7 separate regions of the Homo sapiens genome follow, and all the other regions are linked to region 1. Evidence: promoter capture Hi-C in 16 types of primary human blood cells and fetal thymus (Javierre and others, 2016). All regions are on one chromosome and are shown on one strand. Each heading gives the region's core, a stretch centred on a gene start or on the middle of the fragment in contact. The rest is flanking DNA. Distances are from core to core; before and after follow the strand shown. Region 1 holds the start of BOLA3 (bolA family member 3). Region 2 overlaps DCTN1-AS1 (DCTN1 antisense RNA 1). Region 3 holds the start of SLC4A5 (solute carrier family 4 member 5). Region 4 overlaps DGUOK-AS1 (DGUOK antisense RNA 1). Region 5 overlaps SLC4A5 (solute carrier family 4 member 5). Region 6 holds the start of DGUOK-AS1 (DGUOK antisense RNA 1). Region 7 overlaps TET3 (tet methylcytosine dioxygenase 3).

What was found. The method cuts DNA at HindIII sites, captures the fragments that hold promoters and counts their contacts. A CHiCAGO score of 5 or more calls a contact.
Region 2: a contact is called between a fragment that was not itself captured here and the fragment with the promoter of BOLA3 in region 1, in 2 of 17 cell types (naive CD8 T cells and naive B cells). The highest score is 6.0, in naive CD8 T cells.
Region 3: a fragment that was not itself captured here is called in contact with the fragment with the promoter of BOLA3 in region 1 in 1 of 17 cell types (activated CD4 T cells); the score reaches 5.6 in activated CD4 T cells.
Region 4: a contact is called between a fragment that was not itself captured here and the fragment with the promoter of BOLA3 in region 1, in 7 of 17 cell types (activated CD4 T cells, erythroblasts, naive CD4 T cells and 4 more). The highest score is 9.3, in activated CD4 T cells.
Region 5: a contact is called between a fragment that was not itself captured here and the fragment with the promoter of BOLA3 in region 1, in 4 of 17 cell types (naive B cells, M1 macrophages, total B cells and 1 more). The highest score is 5.7, in naive B cells.
Region 6: the fragment with the promoter of DGUOK-AS1 here is called in contact with the fragment with the promoter of BOLA3 in region 1 in 16 of 17 cell types (activated CD4 T cells, naive CD8 T cells, erythroblasts and 13 more); the score reaches 16.2 in activated CD4 T cells.
Region 7: a contact is called between a fragment that was not itself captured here and the fragment with the promoter of BOLA3 in region 1, in 4 of 17 cell types (activated CD4 T cells, erythroblasts, naive CD8 T cells and 1 more). The highest score is 7.5, in activated CD4 T cells.

The regions. Positions count from the first base shown.
Region 1 is chr2:74,146,473-74,149,301 of GRCh38, reverse strand. BOLA3 (bolA family member 3) reads left to right here and starts at 1,390. Exons shown (of 4, transcript NM_212552.3): 1 at 1,390-1,481. The coding sequence starts at 1,428. BOLA3-DT (BOLA3 divergent transcript) reads right to left here and starts at 1,321. Exons shown (of 3, transcript NR_045636.1): 1 at 1,079-1,321; 2 at 824-952; 3 at 1-604. RefSeq lists an enhancer at 977-1,636 and a silencer at 1,170-1,649. The HindIII fragment of the contact is 11,442 bases long and covers 1-2,829 here.
Region 2 is chr2:74,397,054-74,399,882 of GRCh38, reverse strand. DCTN1-AS1 (DCTN1 antisense RNA 1) reads right to left here. Exons shown (of 3, transcript NR_158174.1): 3 at 1,215-2,829. Among named protein-coding and RNA genes, the nearest start is that of DCTN1-AS1, 13 kb to the right of the region's middle. The HindIII fragment of the contact is 2,857 bases long and covers 1-2,817 here.
Region 3 is chr2:74,340,668-74,343,496 of GRCh38, reverse strand. It overlaps SLC4A5 (solute carrier family 4 member 5), which reads left to right and starts at 81. Exons shown (of 31, transcript NM_133478.3): 1 at 81-141; 2 at 963-1,039. The HindIII fragment of the contact is 1,336 bases long and covers 684-2,019 here.
Region 4 is chr2:73,963,893-73,966,721 of GRCh38, reverse strand. The region is part of intron 1 of DGUOK-AS1 (DGUOK antisense RNA 1); the gene reads left to right. Among named protein-coding and RNA genes, the nearest start is that of DGUOK-AS1, 16 kb to the left of the region's middle. The HindIII fragment of the contact is 976 bases long and covers 863-1,838 here.
Region 5 is chr2:74,319,727-74,322,555 of GRCh38, reverse strand. All of the region lies in intron 5 of SLC4A5 (solute carrier family 4 member 5), which reads left to right. Among named protein-coding and RNA genes, the nearest start is that of SLC4A5, 22 kb to the left of the region's middle. The HindIII fragment of the contact is 1,554 bases long and covers 608-2,161 here.
Region 6 is chr2:73,980,074-73,982,902 of GRCh38, reverse strand. It overlaps DGUOK-AS1 (DGUOK antisense RNA 1), which reads left to right and starts at 1,464. Exons shown (of 2, transcript NR_104030.1): 1 at 1,464-1,768. The HindIII fragment of the contact is 8,489 bases long and covers 1-2,829 here.
Region 7 is chr2:74,018,223-74,021,051 of GRCh38, reverse strand. All of the region lies in intron 3 of TET3 (tet methylcytosine dioxygenase 3), which reads right to left. Among named protein-coding and RNA genes, the nearest start is that of TET3, 35 kb to the right of the region's middle. The HindIII fragment of the contact is 1,716 bases long and covers 556-2,271 here.

The DNA of each region.
Region 1 (2,829 bases), core at 141-2,640:
CCTGTTTCCATTCCTAAAGCTGGGGATAGGTGCGCCTCATCTAAACCATGCTGTCTGAATAGCAAGGGAATGGTTCACCATTACTACCCTGCTTGAGAAAAAATTTTTTTGACAGTTTAAATTGCATCATTGACAGCAATGAAGAAAACTTAGCAAATCATCTCTAAACATTTTAAAAGAATGAAGCAGAAAATGTAAGACAGGCTAGTAATTGATCCAAAGGAGAAATTCTGAAGGCCAGAACATAGGAGTCAGTTAATACTGTAATAAATAAATTAGACAATATCCATATATAACAACTATAGGTCCAATCCATCCAAGTGCAACGCTGAAGGGACGTATTGATTGCATAGGCCAGAATGTTGGCAAAAAGCTGGTAAATCCTGCAGGGTGCCACCAGACCGCGTGCTGCAAACAAATAACAGCTAGAGAGAGGAGAGGCTTGGTTGAATTTCGGCCTTGACTGGTCTGAAGACTCCAGAGGCGGGACGAATTTGCGGACAGTTCTACCCCATCCCACATGGCGTCAGCTTCCCTTCCATTCTCATGACTCCATGGTCCATGGCTCCAACCTGGGCCTCTGTTAGGCTGTGTCCTGTGGCACCTTAAACTCAGGCAAATTAAGAACTGTTCGTGGACTCTGCTCAGCCCCCACCTAACCCTCCATCCAAGTCATTGTCCAAGCCAGAAACTGGAGTCATCTCAGATACCTTCCCACTCACACCTCCACATGCAGTCGCTCGATTCCATTCACCTCCCAAGTGTCTCAGTTCATTCTTCCATCCCTCCCGCCACTGGTTTAGTTAGGCCCCTCCATTCTCACCTGGACCATCGCGGTAGCCTCGGAGCTTCTGACTGTGTCTCTGGTTGCAGCCCCTACACGCTCTCTTCCTTACAGGAGCGGAGCGATCTTTCTCAAGCGCGAATCAAATCCTTCCACGAGTCCCCGCACCTGGAGCGAAGGCCAAACTCCTCAGCTTAGAAGCTAGACTGCCAGAGTAGGGAGTGGGAATGGAAAAGTACATCAGGAGCACGAGGGGTATTCGGATGAGGGAAGGCCAGTATAGGGCGCCGAGACCTTGGAGTGTTTCTGAGCTGAGGAGGAATGAGACTTTCACGCGGGCAAGGGGACCCTATCCATGAAACAGGCCCTGGGGAGACTGAAGGAGAGCGGCGCGAGCGAAGGCAGAGGGCGGGGCCCCGAGGTCGGCAGGCGCTGCAGTGTCGGGGGTGGCGAGTCAGCCAGGGCCAGGGGATGGCGGGGTGGGGCCGGAGCCAGGCGACCGGAGGCCTCCGGGGCGGGGCCGGGAGGCTGACGGCCTCCGGGCGGCAGGGGGCGGCCTCTCCCACGGCGGCGGCTCTCGGTCCCCCGCTCCGCGTCTTTCGGGCATACAGTGACCTCGGGCGGCGGGTCACGTCGGCCGGGCATGGCTGCATGGAGCCCGGCCGCGGCAGCGCCTCTCCTCCGCGGGATCCGCGGGGTGAGCGTGGGCAGGGTCGGGGCTGCTCTCCCCGGGACGGGAGCTGCGGAGGGACCGCGGGGCCGGCGGCTGTCGGGGCTTGAGGACTGGCTCCCGGAGGGCGCGCGCGGCACTGGCAATGGGGGGCTCCTCTTCCTTTCTCTCATTCATTCTTTCATTCATTCATTCACTCAGCGACAACGGCATTCGAAATTTCAAGCTCTGGCGCGCTCTAGGGGAGCTCCCGAGCTGGGTGGAGGTTGGAGGTCAGGCGGACAGACACATGAACAGTCATAATACTGCGGGCACAGGAAAAAAAAAGGATTGGTTTACCGAGCAGAAGACAGGAGTCATAGCCCAGAGTCAAGGCGTGGGTGCGAGGGACTGCAGCGGGGCCGGGGCCTTGGGAAGGTCGACTGGGCCTCTGACCTTGATCCTCCTCCAAATCCCACACTACCGGAGCAGAACCCAAGCAGGGGGCACTTCCCACGCGCTCTCCTAATCTCTCCCCCTTTCTGAACCATCCTTTGCTTCAGCTCATACCATTCTTTCTCTTAACTTTCATTTTCCTTCTCCCCTGGTTCTGAACCTGCCTGCCCTGTGCATGAAGAGAAGTTCTTCCACTGCGGTGACTTTCAGCGTGGACAGTGATCATCTGGGGATGTCAGTTGATTGTTCCACTAAAGGCCGCTGCCCACAGATCCGCTAAGATGAAAGGCTTCTCCCAAGGATTCTGCAACGCTCACCTCTCTCACCCCTTAGTAGCTGCCGATTCTGTCTGCCATCTGGTTACTCTCTGCCTTTACCCTCAAGATTCTGCCCCCAGAAGCAGCTCCACCCCACCCTCACTCCTGGCAATCCTGTCCAGCCTCTCAACATCGAGTTTCTGTCCCTCCACACAGCAGGCAGACAATCACACTCTGGACCTTTCTCCTGTCTTGCATTTCTGTCCCTAATTGACTAGTTCTTCCCCTGCTCATTCATTCATCCAGCACCAAGTGCCTCTGAGGGCCTGCCCTGGGGTCAGCTCTGGGATGCTGCCGGACTCATTCCTGGCCTATAAGACCAGTGGTGAGAGAGCCAGTGCACAGCTCATTTTAAAGGAGGTGCTCTGAGATTCTGTGACACAGGACCCTGCTCTGAGCTATCAGGAAGGACTGAGGGGTAGAGGGGTGGGACCTTCAGCACCAGCACCCATGAACGGCCCTAGTGTCCTCCAACCTGTCATCCACGTCTAGTCAGGGACCAGTGCCCGGTGCTTCCATCATTGTAATGCCTCTTACTTGGGCATCTCTCCTGACTCGCTCCAGAAGGCACTGTTTCCTGCAGGTTACTTTGGTCCCATGAGCCTGGGTTCTATCACCTGGAG
Region 2 (2,829 bases), core at 140-2,639, 250 kb before region 1:
TCAGAAAGTTAAGGGGGTGGACTGGGAATCCCTATGGTGAAAGAGTGTGTGTGGTTGTTAAATATTATATCCAGCATTTTTAGTTGCAGTATATCAGAAGTTTCCGTAATATTTAGTCCACGGTAGCACCAGAAATGGAAGCACTTAATTTGTTCCTCTCTCCCTCCTTCCCTCCCTTTTTTCCTTCTTTTATTCTTTCCTTTCTTGCTTGCTTTTGCATTTGAATACCTAATTGTCCCAGCACCATTTTTTGAATGGTATATCTTTCCCTCACTGATCAATAATACAAATTTTGTCATATATTAAGTTTTTGGCCTGGTGTGGTGGCTTGCACCTGTAATTCCAGCGCTTGGGGAGGCCAAGGTACGGGAATCACTTTAGGCCAAGAGTTCAAGACCAACGTAGGCAACATGGCAAGACCCCGTATCTACAAAAATAAAAATAAAAAAATTAGCCAGGTGTGGTGATGACTGCCTGCAATCCTAGCTACTCAGGAGGCTGAGGCAGAAGGATTGCTTGAGCCCAGGAGTTAGAGGTTACGGCTATGATCACACTACTATATTCCAGCCTGGGTCACAGAGTGAGAACCTGTCTCTAAAACAATAATAATAATTTTAAAAAACGAAGTTTTTGTAGGTATATGTTTTAGTTTGTTTTTAGATCTAGACTCTTTCTATCCCTACGTCAATACTATATTGCTTTACTTAATAAACTTTAAAATAAGCACACACACACACAGCCACACTCTTTTTTTTTTTGAGATGGAGTCTTGCTCTGTCACCCAGGCTGGAGTGCAGTGGCGCAATCTCGGCTCACTGCAAGCTCCACCTCCTGGGTTCACACCATTCTCCTGCCTCAGCCTCCTGAATAGCTGGGACTACAGGCGCGCGCCACCATGCCCGGCTAATTTTTGTATGTTTAGTAGAGATGGGGTTTCACCGTGTCAACTGTCTTCTTTTTTTCAGAAGTTTCCTGGCTAATTTTTTGCCCTTTGCTTTTCTCTACAAAATTACTAATTTGTTGTCAAGTTCCTAGAATATCCTGATAGAATATTGATTGGAGTTATCTCAAATACATATTATTAATACAGGGCAACTAACTTCTTTATGACTTTAAATTTTCCTATTCATAAGTGTGCTATATCTCTCATTCATTTAAGCTACCTTTTTTTTTTTTTCCAGATGGACTCTCGCTTCTTTGCCCAGGCTGGAGTATAGTGGCACGATCCCTGCTCACTGTAACCTCTGTCTCCTGGTTCAAGCGATTCTCCTGCTTCAGCCTCTTGGGTGATTACAGGCGGGTGCCAGCACACCCGGCTAATTTTTGTATTTTTAATAAAGATGGAGTTTTGCCATGTTGGCCAGGTTGGTCTCGAACTCCTAACCTCAAGTGATCCACCAGCCTTGGCCTTGCAAAGTGTTGGGATTACAGGCGTGAGCCACAGGCTATCTTTAATGTATGTTTCCAAATATAATTTTGTAATTTTGGGTTGTGCACATCTCTCATCTCTCAGTCTTTTTTATTTTTTTGAGACGGAGTCTCTCTCTGTCACCCAAGCTGGAGTGCAGTGGTGCGATCTCGGCTCACTGCAGCCTCCACCTCCCGGGTTCAAGCAATTCTTCTGTCTCAGCCTCCCAAGTAGCTGGGATTACAGGCATCACACTCAGCTAATTTTTGTATTTTTAGTAGAGACGGGGTTTCACCATTTTGGCCAGGCTGGTCTCGAACTCCTGACCTCAAGTGATCTGCCTGCCTCGGCCTCCCAAAGTGTTAGGATTACAGGCGTGAGCTACCCTGCCTGACCACCCCACCTTTTTTTTTAAGACGGAGTCTCGTTCTGTCACTCAGGCTGGAGGGCAGTGGCACAATCTCGGCTCACTGCAACCTCTGCCTCCCGGGTTCAAGCAATTCCCCTGCCTCGGCATCCTGAGTAGCTGGGATTACAGGCGCGTGCCACCATGCCTGGCTAATTTTTGTATTTTTAGTAGAGACGGGGTTTTACCATGTTGGTCAGGCTGGTCTCAAACTCCTGACCTTGTGATCCGCCTGCCTCGGACTCCCAAAGTGCTGGGATTACAGGTATGAGCCACTGAGCCTGGCCGGGTTGTGCACATATTTTGTTGTTTATTACTAGGTGCATCAGTTTCATTTCAAAAATTATATAATTTAACTTTTCATTGTTGGTTAGAGAAATGCAATTGAGTTTTGCATGTTGATTTTATATCTAGTCACGTTGCTAAATATTTTCTAATCAATCCTAATAATTTACAGATTATTTTGGCTTTTTTTTTTTTTTTGAGATGGAGTTTTGCTTCTTCGCCCAGGCTGGAGTGCAGTGGTGCAATCTCGGCTTACTGCAACCTCTGCCTCCCTCCCAGGTTCAAGCAATTCTCCTGCCTCAGCCTCCCAAGTAACTGGGATTACAGGTACGTGCTAGCATGCCCAGCTAATTTTTGTATTTTTAGTCGTGATGGGGTTTCACCATGTTGGCCAGACTGGTCTCGAACTGCTGACCTCAAGTGATCCACCCACCTTGGCCTCCCAAAGTGCTGGGATTACAGGCGTGAGCCACTGCACCCGGCCTATTTTGGCCTTTTCCATGTAAGTCATCATATCATCTGTGAAAAATGACAGTTTAATTTCCTTCTTTCTAATCTTTATGTCTTTTATATACGTTTTTCTTGCCTTGATGCACTAGTTCAAATACAGTGTTGATCAGACTCAGAGATATTCGGCATCTTCGTATTCCTGATTTTAGAGAATCTAATGAGATCTTACATTCTTTTCAAGGATCTGTATTTGTTTTAACAAAAAGCTTTCATCTGTAGA
Region 3 (2,829 bases), core at 102-2,601, 190 kb before region 1:
GAAAATAGTTGGTGAGGCAATAGAGGAGGGGCTATGTTAATAGCAGAGATAGAAAAAACGAGAGGTGGATGGTTCCAACTGCAAGGTCCACCCTAAAGGAATTGGAGTCAGGGCCCAGGAGCCACAGGCCACTGCACTGGGGTAAGTAGAGTGGATTTTACATAAATAAAGTTACAGAGTGGTTGTAGGTTCTGGTTTGGAGATGTGAGTGAACCAACTGAATAGAATAGGCAGATTCCCCAGCCCACCAAGAGTCAGATGAGAATTTTATTGCTTTTTGCTAAAGGCCTGTACAAGACTTAGAGCAAAGATAAGGAGTAACCTGATTGTTGAAACTAATCTATAAGTATTCCAACATAGCAAAGGACAAGTAACGGAATGACGAGGTTTTCCTGTAGTAGTGTTGCGATTTTGTTCTGCTGTGTCCCCCTACTCCAGTTTCCTCTGTGAGGGGAGCGTGTAGTGTGTGCATATCTGTGGAATGTCAGACTTCTAAAGTCAGGGGCTGAGACCTATATCTAGTTAGACCTCTGTGCATATTCTTGAGCCATGGGAGTCTCAGTGGTTGATAGTACTTCACACTTCTTCCAGTTCAATAAGGGTTACCTATGGTGTCTCCTCTGAGTCTCCTAGGAGTCCAGAAAACATGAGACTTGTATAAGAATCCACACTTCAACTAAGCTTTCTGGCCCAAAGAAGGCATTGTTACCAAGGATCTGTTTCTTGAGGTCTTTAGGGAGTGAGAGGGAAGGAACGCATGAGGAACCAGAGCTAGTCCCCATCTCTCTCCCTAGAAGTGACAGACTGCATAGCTCTTATGTATCAGGAGTCCTGGAGATCAGCTGGCTTTCCTTAAAAAAGGGTCATCCAGCCGTGATGAAATCCTGACTTAGAAACCCAGTGCCCTTAGCTTTGTGGGCTTCTGTCCCTGAGAAATGGTGTTTTACCCTCCCTCCAAGCAGGCATCCCAGGATTTGGAATTCAGCTGTGAGCTCATGAGCTGATGGATGTTTCCAGGAGTACCCTGAAGACCACCCAGGTATGCTCTCCCCACCTCCTTTATTTTGGATGGACCAGTCTAAGGAGAGTCATCTTTTCCCACACCATTGGTGGCACTCAGTGAGTGGCTTGTTGCTTGACTGAATGCCTGCCCACACCCTCTCCAGTCAAGTTTATCTTGAGTAACTAAACACTTAGCAATGGAGACACTCATACATCTCCACTGCACTAGAAGTAGGGATGGTGGCCATGCCAACAAAGGAGATAACTTTAGCACAAAGGATGTCACAAGAAACAGATAGTAGAGTGTGTTCTCCAGTGTTATCATTTCCCAAACCAGAATCAACTGGTCTTGGGTTTCCTTCCCTCATCCTTCATCTGTAGAAAACTTTGTTTCTTGAGCTACTTCAGATCTACTTCCCTATCTTAAGAGGTGGGCTATGTGCTTCTTCTGCTAATTTATTATCTCAGAAGTACATAATTTGAGCAATTTTATATAGTTTTGAGGACAGGAGCCCTGTAAGAGTCTCTTACTCAGAAATGGATTCAGCTTGGTTTGAGGTTTAATAGGTCATTGCAATGCTCCCTTCTGGTATCACAGGACATAAGCTGGGTTGGGCGGAGTCCCCCTTTTGTGTCTTAGCCTTCCTCTCCTTACTCCAGAGTAAGAGCAGCCCTGATGGAAAAACAAAATTACCATCCATGCCTACTTCATTTCTGCCCCTCTTACTCTAAGTCTGGGCAATCCGCAACATCTTTTTATATTGGACTTCCTAGATCACAGACTCTTTTTTTAGGAAGAGTCAATTCAAGCCACCCAGGACTTATGATCCCTTGCTCTGTGTCGGGCACAGTGTGAGCACAGTAATGGCATGGGCTGCCTGATGTGGGGCAGTCCCTCTTGGTCAGCAATTCACTCAGCAGCCATCTCAGTGCCCCCTGTGTAAATTTGAGGCACTTTGCCAGGCTGTGGGAACAGTGTGGGGTTAAACAGCACATGGTCCTTGCCCTCAGAAAGCTTAAAATCCAAAGTCAGATACAAGGTTATTTAACAGATGCGTGTTAATTAACAATTAAAGCTAATGTGCACTGTTCCATTGAACAAACATGACTTATGTGGTAAAATCAGAAAGCAGCTTGATTTTTGTCTCTTACTGCTCTTTTACATTTACTCTTTTTTTTTTTTTTTTTTTGAGATGGAGTCTCGCTCTGTCGCTAGGCTGGAGTGCAGTGGCACAATAATTGGCTCGCTGCAACCTCCACCTCCTGAGTTCAAGCGATTCTCCTGCCTCAGCCTCCTGAGTAGCTGTGGTTGTAGGCACCCACCACCACGCCCAACTAATTTTTGTATTTTTAGTAGAGATGGGGTTTCACCATGTTGACCAGGCTGGTCTCGAACTCCTGACCTCAGGCGATCCACCCACCTCGGCCTCCCAAAGTGTTGAGATTACAGGCGTGAGCCACTGCACCCAGCCTCTTTTACATTTATTCGGTGGGACTAGCTCTTGCTTTGCCCCTGAATGGAATTTAGGCAAGTCACAAGGTTGTTCCAGCCACCCTTGGTCTCAGTCTCATTTTAATAATTATAATTTCCAGTCCTACCTAAAGATACCACTTCAATCTTGACTTGGAGTGGAGCCTCTTCTGGTGCTGCTAAAGAACAGAGGCCCGTGGTGGATGGTGGTCTGGATGGGGAGTCCCTGGTTTCCACTCTTCCTCACTTATTTAGCTAACCAGGGTCCTCAACCCCGTCAGGGTTGTTGCCTGGAAGAGAAGAGGTGAGAAGAATATGAAAACTATACGTTTGTGATCTCCAGCTCACCAGTGGAA
Region 4 (2,829 bases), core at 101-2,600, 180 kb after region 1:
AACTCCAGACTTGATTTGGATTTCACTAGTATTTTCCACTAACGAACTTGATCTGTTCCAGGATCCAATTCAGGATACCACTGTGCATTTGGATACCAACTTTTTTTTTTTTTTTTTGAGTTGGAGTTTCGCTTTTGTTGCCCAGGCTGGAGTGCAATGGCACCATCTTTGCTCACCACAACCTCCGCCTCCTGAGTTCAAATGATTCTCCTGCCTCAGCCTCCCAAGCAGCTGGGATTACAGGCATGCGCCACCACACCCAGCTAATTTTGTATTTTTAGTAGAGATGGGGTTTCTCTATGCAGACTGGTCTCGAACTCCAGATCTCATGATCTGCCCACCTCAGCCCCCCAAAGTGCTGGGATTACAGGTGTGAGCCACCACGCCCGGCCACCAACATTTTTAAAGAAGAATATTAACATGATTAAAGGTTTTTAGGCTGGGTGTGGTGGCTCACACCTGCAGTCCCAGCACTTTGGGAGGCTGAAGTGCGTGGATCACTTGAGGTCAGGAATTTGAGACCAGCCTAGCCAACATGGTGGTGTTTACTAAAAATACCAAAAAAAAAAAAAAAAAAAAAATTAGCCAGGCATGGTAGTGTGCACCTGCAGTCCCAGCTACGTGGGAGGCTGAGGCAGGAGAATCACTTGAACCCAGGGGGCGGAGGTTGCAGCGAGCTGAGATCATGCCACTGCACTCTGGCCTGGGCGACAGAGCAACGCTGTCTCAAAAAATAAAAATAAAAATAAATTTAAAAAAAATAAAGGTGTTTTAAGAAAATCATCTGATAGCAACATAAAGGGTGAGCTGGGAAGTGGAGTAGAAGGCATCTGTAAAGACACTCCAGAACCTTCACCAAGCTTCCACATACATTCTAATGGCTAGTGCCTGAAGGGCACTTTATGAAGGTGCAGTTGCTGAGAAGAGAAAATCTAGCCCCCCAGAAACATCTCTCCACCTGTTCAGGGACCCAGGGGCCAAAGGCACAGCTAAGATGCACCTGGTGGCCTCCACCTAGCAGTGCTGGCAAACTAGGTTTTCCTGCCCAGGCTACAAAATTTGGCTGGTAAATCCAGACAGGCAGCCAAGGAAATGCTTGCTTGCCTTCTTTTCTGAAAATCTAGTCTTATCTCCCTTATGTAATGGTTTGGTGTTATGCAGAGAACAGGCTCTGGAGTCAGGATGGACCTAGGTGTGAGTCCCAGCGCTGTCAGTTACTGTGGGACTCTCGTTGAGTTACTGAACTCTGAGCTTCAGTTTCCTCACTGGTAAAAACTGGCACCTTAAACCTCCTTCACAGGATTATTGAGAGGGTTGAATAACATTTAGAAAGTGTTCAGTAGGGTAGCTGGCACACAGTAGGCATCTGATAATCATCAACTCCTTTGACAATTTAAGAGTAGAGTCCAGGCCCCAAATTTCTTGCATATTCTCAGTGCTTAGTACACAGAAGGGACTTCCTCAATTGATGATCGTAATATAGAGCTCACAAATAACCCAGGAACCTGAGAAAGGGCGGAGCGTGTCTCCAGTCAATAATTTCTTTATTTAAAAGTCTATGTTAGGCACTCATGAAACAGCAATAAATAAATAAATGCCAGGCATTGTACTAAATGACCAAGACATGGTCTATGTCAAGAAGGTCAAGGCCAAGGACATCAAAGAGATGTCTCCAGACAACTTTCATTCAGGTATGACACGTTTGACAGAAGTTTAATAAACAGGGTGCTCAAGGGCACAAAGACTGGACATGGTGTGGGGTGAGGGAAGGGCTCCACAGAGAGAGGAATGGTGGGCTTGGGCCTGGCAGGGTGAGTAGTTCTTCCAGTGTAAAAGCTTGGGGTGGTGGGTGGGGGGTGGGAGAGAAAGAGAGAGAGAGAAACATTTTGTCATGTGGGAAAACACATCTGAAGCTATGGGTGGTCTCGTGGGGTTTATGGTAGGAGTGATGGGAGATAGGGTTATAAAAACATGGTAGCTCTCATACCTCCACATAGGAGAGGCTGAGGGGCAGCTCTCTGGTGGCAGGGGTGGGGCAGGTGACCTGACCTAGCAACCACTGTTCTTTTTTATACATCATTTAGTTGATGTGGCTTGGGGAAGAAATGATTACTGGTAGTAGTAATTGGGGGGCAGGGGAGGGGCCATTCCTGCCATTCCTAGGCATGGCCACTGCTACAATGGGGACCATATGACTGCTATGGAAGAGGAGGAGAGGTGGGATGAATGCTGGGGAGTCAACCACAATTTCCACTACACCTTCAACTAGAGAGACAGAAACAGGTGCAGAGAAGATTTGAAAGATTTCAGAGATGAATAGGCAGAATTTGTTGAGAATGAGTGTAAGTGGGGGGTCAAAGATAACACCAAGGTTTTTAATGTGGCCAACGGGGTGAATGGAGAAGCAGGGGAAATGGCTTTGCTGGCTGGGTTGGGGTAGGGTTGGTGGTGGGTATGCGGGTGGGGAGAACTGTTTTGTACCCATTGAGCATAAGGGATCCGGGTTGTGAAATCCATAGTTTGATATAGCTCTAGCTTTAAAAGACATCCTCCTGTTTGGGATTTGCTTCAGAATAATGAGAGTGGGGGTAGGCTGTAGGTGAAACCAGATTGGTTCTGAGTAGATAACCGAAGTGGGTGAGAAAGTCGAAGTTGGCGAGAAAGTCGAAGTTGGCGAGAAAGTCGAAGTTGGCTCATGCTAAGAAGGTAAAAAGCTGCCCTGCGACTCAACAGGCTGGGAGGACATTACACAGCTAAAGCCAGTCACAAAAGTTACCATGAAACAGTATTTCTCCCACGAGCACGTTGTAGCCGTAAAGTGTCATAATG
Region 5 (2,829 bases), core at 135-2,634, 170 kb before region 1:
TCATCTATCCAAAATACCAAAGATCATCAAGCATCATTAACCTTATCCTTCCCCAGAAGTAACCTGAAGTTGGTGTGTATCATTCCTCTACATAATTTTATGATTTTATTACTTATAAATGTAACTATAATCAATATTGGTAGTGTTTTGTTTGTTTTAAAGTTTTATGTAAATAATATCATTTTCTTTTACAACTTCCTTTTGTTCTCATTATGTTTTTGAGATTTATACATGTTAATACATAAAAATCTAGTTCATTAATTTCAACTGTCCATAGTCATCCATTATGTGTCAGTTAGGAAGGCCTCAGCTAAAAGTAACATAAAACTTGGCTAGCAGTTTAAATATAGAGATTTTTTTTTTTTTTCAGATAACAGGAAATCCAGCAATAAGCAGTCCAGAGCTCAGTGATATTCTCAGGAACCCAGATTTGTCTTATCCTTCTGCCTTGTTCTTAGCCTGTGCCTTTGGTCTTCATACCTGTCACCTCATTGTTGCAAGATGGCTGCTTTATCTCAAAGTCTCAAGGTCCGTGCAAGAAAGCAGGAGGGTAAAGGACAAACTGTGCATTCCAACTGTGTCACTTTCAATTAGGAAAATAAAAGCTTTCCTGAAAGTCTTACCCAATGGACTTCCACCTAAATCTCATTGGCTAGAATAGGGTCACATGACTATTCCTAAACTCAGTGACTGGCTAAGGGCAACCAGAATACCGTGAATGGTTTATATAGATCCCAGCTCATGCCTGAGCCTAGGGAAGGTGACTACTGGCAATCAAGGGCCCTGTGTCTCTACCTGAACAAAATAAAGTTTTGTAAATAGGCAAGCAGAAGAGGGAATGGTTGTTGGACAGTGTAGGAGACATGCTAGATGACTACCCAATGCGCATTCTCCCTTTTTCCCTTACTGACAGACTCAATATTATTTTCCCAGTAAAAACTTACTTTCCCAGAGTCCTTTGTCAGATGACCCAGGTGTGGTTTTCAGTAACCACATCTGGGTCACCTTTGTCAACACATAATTTTTAGTAGAAGTATATCCCAAATATTGTGCTGAACATATACTCAAAGTTATTTGTTGTTATCTGAAATTCAAATTTAACTGGGCAAACTGTAGTTTCATTTGCTAAACCTGGCAACTCTATCCAGGAAGGAAGAAGAAGGAAAAGTGAAGAGGCTTTCTTCTGAAAATGCTTTATCTAGGAAGGGACTCCTTCCTCAGGTTCTTTCTCCTGTAGCTCTTCAGCCAGAGAGAGCTGAAGGGTGTCTGAGGGAAGTGTTTCTTTTTAGTTGGCCATAGTGCTACTGTGGCTGGAGCAGAAGTCAGAAAGTCAGAGCAGAAAGGGGAATGGGCATCAGGGAAGTAACTAGCAGCATCCTCCACAGGTGTTTTATACTCCCCAAATAGTTACATCCAGTGGTGATATTCAAAATATTTAACAACCAACATGGCACTGACATTGACCAACCCAAATGAATACCTGATCACTAAAAATGGACACCAATCATAAATAGCAGCCATACCAATGCGTATCGGTGGAATATCAACCCTGTTTCTATTGCTGTTTTCAGGAAAATTAACACTCACTTGATTTATTATGACTGTGTAAATATTGCTCACAGTTGAGTATAGTGTACCATGATTACTTTTCCTTTCTATGACTATTCTTGACAAAGTTTTTGTATCCTCTTGCAACAGTCAAACACATCAAGACCATTTTTCAGATCCAGGTTTTTTTCCTGAAGACATCCTGTCCAGAGCCTGCTCTAAGATGTGCCTGTTGCTCTCTGGACTGCTGCAGGGTTCTTCTCCGGTGACTTTCCTTTGCCTATCTTTTGTGGTGAATCCCGTTTCCCAGACTTAATTTCTTTCTTAGTGCAAGTCCTTCATCTTGCTAGAGTTCCTCCTTCAGTCACTTCCTGAAAAAAAGGTGCATCGAAGGTAAATTTTTGAGATAGTTTATGTCTGAAAATGCCCCTATTCTACCCTCCCACTTGATTGATAGCTTGATTGGGACTGGAATTCTAGGTTGGAAATAATTTTGTCTCACTTTTGGAAGCATGACTTCATTGTCTTGTAGCTTCCACTGTAGTGATTGAGAAATCTGATATCAATTCTTGTTTCAGATTCTTGGTAGATGACTTATTTTTTTCTGGAAGCTTTTAAGATTTCTTTATCCATGAAGTCCTAATGCTTCATAATGATGTGACTTGGAGTGGATTTTTTAAAAATTAATTTTTTCTGAGCTGATCGAAAGTTCTTTCAATCAGAAAATTCTTCCAGATCTTTCAGTTCTGGAAGGTATTCTCATGTTATTTCATTGGTAATTTTCTCTCCACTATTTTTTTATCTCTCTTTTGGGAACTCCTATTATTTTGATGTTTGGGCCTCCTGGATTGATCCTCTGGTTTTCTTGTTTTGTCATAGTATTTGTTTAATCTCTTTTTATTTGTGTTCTATTATCTGATATACTCCTTCAAATTTATGTTCCAAGTCTTTTATTGAAAATTTTCTTCTAAGGTATTTTTAATTTCGAAAAGTTCTGTCTTATTCTTTAAAAACTTATAGGTTCATAGGTTTATAGCATTCTGCTTTTCTTGTCGTCATGAATACAATGTCTTTTCTTGTCTCTGTTGTGATTTCCTCTAATTTGGTCTTGAGAGCTGTCTCTGGAGAGTAGCCAGAAACCAAGATAGCCACTTTCTAGGAGAGCTCTAACCAGGAGGAGAGTAAGGTTTAGATGGTCAGGTGAGACCAAATGAAACCAAAATGCATAAAACAGAAGAAATTTATTATTTACAGATCTCAAAGAGGTTAGGGGTGGCTGAT
Region 6 (2,829 bases), core at 215-2,714, 170 kb after region 1:
TAAGAAAACAGATTAAATAACTTGCCCAGGATCACTCAGCTAGTAAGTTGTGGACTTTCAGAGGAGCCCAGCAGCCATCCTCTTGTATTCTGTCTGGGTAAATGGCACCAGCAAGTTACTGTGTCATTTACTCTTTGCCAGCAATCTATGAGAGGGTCATTTCATAAAGCCCTCTCGTTTAGGTAACTGGGTGAATGCTGGTGCCATTCACTGTGACAAAATGCAGAAGGAAGGATGCCTGGGGATGGAGACATTCGTGTGAAAGTGAGTGTGCAACTGAGGGGGTGAGGCCTGGGTTTGAGATTTGGGCCCCATCAGTGAGCAGACAGCGAGGCCTCAGTTGTGGAGGAGCTCATCCAGGGTGGATATGGAGTGTGAGAGGGAAAGGCTGCCAGGACAGAGCCCCAGGGAATACCAGCCCATGAGGGACAGGAGCTGAGAAGGCGCCGCCAGAGAGGTTGGAGGGAACCCAGCCAGGCTAGAGAGCTGCCTGTCATATCTTCCCGGCCTCTGGAACCTTACACTTCGGCAGTCCTGTTGCTCATTCCTTCTGCCTGGGGAAAAACCCTTCCCACCCCACCCCTTCTCAGCTACCCCTTGTACCTGCCAAATTCCCACTCATCCTGCAAGTCATAAGTGCCAGTTCCATGAAACCTCCAGCTGCTCAGATGATTCCAGAGCCCCACCCACTCTCCCTCCACAGAAGTTTGACTCTCCCTGCCTAGGAACAGTTATCTCATCGGCGCTGGGCACTGGAATGGTTTGCATGTTTCTTTCCCAGTTACTACAAACTCCTGGAAGGGTAGCACGCTGTCTTTCACCTCATAACCCTAGACCTAGCAACCAACCACTGTGTTGAATGAAGAGACGAGGTGAGTAGACCCTAATGAATGACAGACCCCAGTAACACTGAAGACCCATAGGCTTCTTTCCTGCTTTCTTTACGACTTGCACAAACTGGTCAGGGGCGCCCAAGATAAAACAGCCTAAACTCCTCAGGTCCTGCCTTCTGGTTCTCCAGCCTCCTGGGCTGCTGCGGCTATTCCCATTCACATTGCGCTCAGGGCAGGAGAGCAGCGGGGGTGGGCGTAGGGATAGGGCGAGCCCTTCCTGGGGCTGCATTAGCCTAGACGCAGTGGTTCCGCCAAGAGAGCCCCGGCACCAGCAGCATCACCATCTCCTGGGAACTGGCTAGAAATGCAAGCTCTCGGCCCCATCCTAACCCCACTGAATCAGAAACCCTGGGGGCGGGCCCAGCAATCTGTTTTAATTAGTCCGTCAGGTGAAGTCAAGTTAGAGCAGCACTGGACTACAGCAAGCGGGGGAGAAGGAAGTTCAGCACCCAGGTGGAGACTGCGATTAGGCCCCCAAGGCGCTTAGAGCAGACAGAGGGAGAGAGGCTCCTTTTAGGAGCGGGTTTGGCGGGCGCCACCCCAAGCGGCCAAGGGCGGAGCCTCTTTTAGGCGACTGCTCCCGCGAGGTCAGAGCCGGGCTGTGCCGCTGCCCCCGGGACTAGAAAGGGAAATCTCCTTGCTAGAGGAGGAAGCCCTAAGAACTCAAGGGAGATAGGGGTGGCAGGGGCATTTCCCTGGATGCCTGGAGCATGGAGGGTGCGAAATAAGGAGGCTTTCCTACCCCATTGATGAGCTGAAGTTGATTCCGCACGGGGGAGGAAAGGGACAGGAAGCATAATTGGATGTGCAAGCCTGTGGTTCTTCAGGAAGTTAACACGTGGAACTAACACTGTTGGATGCTGCTGAACTCTCAGGTGATTGATGTGACTAACCTCCTCAGGTACTTGACCTCTCTCCTCTTCAGCTAATGAGTAATTTGTCCTTATTTAAGAATGAGATTTGCGTATGGGGACCTTTTGCAGAAATGTAAATACATCCCGATATCCATACCTGGGCTTGGTTTTAAAGACTGAAGGTATTGGGAGGTTTATTTGATTTTGGATGTATTACTTCTTTGGTCATGTATTGGCTAAAAATATTATCAACTAATATTTGCATAGATCTTTCCCTTTTCAAAGCACTTCCACACACATTATCCTTCTGTCTGCACAGAGTGGCAAATACAACAAATGTGCAAATGTTAACTTTCCTTATCTATGACATAGTTTTTATTATCATCACCATTTTACAGATAAGAGAACTGGCGCTCAGTGAGGTAATTTGTCCAAGGTCATTCACTACTACATGTCAGAATCCAGGACCTACAATCCAGGACCTCTGAAATTAGCCCACGAATGCTAGAGCTGATACCAGGCAGAAGCTGGCATTTTGCTCTCAGGGAAAGGGAGGTTCATTAGTGGGTTGCTTGTGGACCTGCATTGGTGAGTGTGACACGTGTAGGATATCTATGCTATGCGTTTTTGGGTTTTTTGTTTTGTTTTGGTTTTGGGTTTTGGTTTTTTTTTTTTCTTTGAGATGGAGTCTCACTCTTGTCACCCAGGCTGAAGTGCAGTGGCGCGATCTGGGCTCACTGTAACCTCTGCTGCCCAGGTTCAAATGATTCTCCTGCCTCAGACTCTCGAGTAGCTGGGATTACAGGCACCTGCCACCGCGCCCAGCTAATTTTTGTAGTTTTAGTAGAGACTGGTCTTGAACTCCTGACCTCATGATCCACCCACCTCGACCTCCCAAACTGCTGGGATTACATGAGTGAGCCACCGCGCCCGGCTACTACGTTTTTCAATAGCCCCGCAAATGTCCTCATGTTTTATAACTAGTTTTGTGACTGCATTTTGAATTTTTTGAATCAAATAGGCTTCATTACTTGCAAGGAGAATGCAAGGGTACCCATCATAATGGAAGGAATACCCAACAG
Region 7 (2,829 bases), core at 164-2,663, 130 kb after region 1:
GTCCTCTTGGTTCCAATGTTTCCCAGGGATTAAAACAAACCAGCAGAGGAGCCAGAGAAGCATTTCTATGTCCTCTGCCACCCTGAGCATGGGAGATGAGTGAGTGGGAAGGGGAGGGTGAGCACAGACCACGGGATAAATGAGGAACAGCTTACTGCTGCGGTCAAGCAAAACCCAGGGAAACCCCGGGACACGCTGAACCAGATGCACAACTGCTAGAGAGGGATTAGAAATCAGCTCACGTCCTCACTCCCACCTTCTTTTTATGCATGTTGAGAGGCAGAAATCCTGACCCCTGCTTAACAACAGCAGGGATTCCCTTCTCTCCAAGGGCATAGCCCTCAAGCCCTTGAACAAGAGGTGGGAGTTCCCTTGTTCCTGGGTCCCTCCAAGGCAGGTAGACATCACCATCCTTGCTCCAGGGGCAGCAGAGACCAGTGGGGGCAGGGACCTGAGAGTCTGGAACCACTGCCAAGGGTACAGAGTGAATTGGCATGCCCCAGACAGCTCCATCAAGGAATAGTGCCTGCCATTCCCCAATTACAAACAAAAGCTTACATATAAAATGCAAACACCAAGCCTGGGCACTGTGGCTCATGCCTGTAATCCCAACACTTTGGGCAGGCAGACCACTTATGCCCCAGAAATCAAGACCAGCCTGGGCAATATGGTGAAACCCCATCTCTAAAAAAATACAAAGAATAGCTGGGTGTGGTGGTATGCACCTGTAGTCCCAACTACTAGGGAGGCTGAGGTGGGAGGATCACTTGAACCCAGAGGCAGAGATTGCAGTAAGCTAAGATCATGCCACTGCATTCCAGGTTTGGTGACAGAGTGAGACTCTGTCTCAAGGGAAAAACAAATGCAAACGCTATGGTAAAGATTAGCACACGGATAGGAATAAACTTCACGTAGGACATACTGGGTTGGGGGGATGCATATACTCTGGAGGAGAATAGTAGAAGAAAAAAGAAAGGCACTACCATATGAGAGAAGGTGACTGGGCACATAGGTGTGAACCCATCTCACAATGTTCTGTACAAGCTCTGCTTCCAGCCTTGATGAGTCCTCATCCCCTAAGGGAAGCTGCAGATAAGTTTGTTTGTGCTACCTTGAAATGATTGGAAGCTAAGAAAGCAGTTCTCCCAACTAGTTAGCACTAATGAGGGCTAACAACAAGGGGGCTGTGGGTCTCAGGATAATAATGAGATAGAGGCTCAGAGGGCTCCTCCCTGATGTCTGCACGTGGAAAAATGGCCCAGGACCTCCTTTTTCCTGCGGGGACAAGGAGGGTGCCCAATCTGTTATCCAGATCACAGCCTGCAGGGCCTGGAGCCAGGGCTGCTTGAGATTCTGCTGCTCACATTGGCCCAGGCTGTCACACTTTGAAGAGGTGAAGCTCACTGTCCCTCTCATCAATCTGATGCCACGGCGTTTATTAAAAGGATTTACCGCATGCTAGGCTTTGTGCCAGGTACTGGTGACATGAAATGGAGTGAGATGAGCACCCCACCACTGGGAACTCACACTCAGGCACACAGTATTGCCACGGAGGTACAGACAATATACCATGAGGACTTGAGGGAGAAAGGGACAGAAGTGTCAGAAGAGGCAGCACAGAGCAGCTGCATTTCTAATATGCGGGCAAAGATGGGATACAAAGTATAACAGAAAAGATCCCATTCCCAACAGCAACAACAGCAGCTACAGCATATCTAGGAAGAAACTTCACAAGAAATGTGTAAGAAGAAAACCTTAAAACGTTTCATTTATTTTGTTTGTTTGGTTTTTATTAGAGACAGAGTCTCCTTCTGTCGCCCAGACTGGAGTGCAGTGGCCAGATCATAGCTCACCGCAGCCTCCAACTCCTGGGCTACAGCGATCCTCCCACATCTGCCTCCCAAGTAGCTGGGACTACAGGCATGCGCCACCACACCCAGCTAGTTTTTATTTTTTGTAGAGATGAGGGTTGGCGGGGGGTCTCACTATGTTACCCTGGCTGATCTCAAACTCCTGGCTTCAGGCAGTCTTCCCGCCTCAGCCTCCCAAAGCACTGGCATTATGGGGCATGAGCCACCACACCTGGCCTTAAAACTTTGATGAACACACAAAAAAGACTAGAATAAACGGAAAGGTCTACTTCCCTTTCTCTGGATAGGAAGATTCATTGTAAAGCTATCTATTCTCCCCAAAATAACCTGTACGTTTCATGTGATTCCAACTGAAAAATCCCAGTATTTTTCGCAGAACATGGTAAGTTGTTTATAAGCTTATTTGGAGAAAGAAATGCCAAAAAAAAAAAAAAAAGTAAGAAGTATGTTTTAAACCAAAGTATTATATAAAAATGGTGGTAATTAAAACAATGAAATACACAGAATCAGACAAATAAGTCAATGGAAGTAAAAAGAGGCCTTAAAACACCCATGACTGTAAGAGTACTTATGAAATGCTTAAGGTAGAATTCATACACTACAAGGGAAACTACAAATACCCAATAAATAGATTGGGGATAACAGGCTTTCTATTTAGGAAAAGTTCAATCCCTATCTTATATCGCATGCAAAAATAAATCTCACCTTAGAAATCTGAACATCTAAAATAAAACTTAAGTAAGAAAAGCCAAAATACTGATGAATTCTCGTTGTATAAAAATCAAATTTTTATGATAGACACAATGAAAGACAAACAGGCCAAAATTTTTTTCAAAACGTAACAGAAGTTAGTATCAAAACCCTCATAACGATGAAAGCTATACTATGTTTTCTCACTTAAGATGACAGAAGAAGGCCAGGCACGGTGGCTCACACCTGTAATCCCAGCACTCTGGGA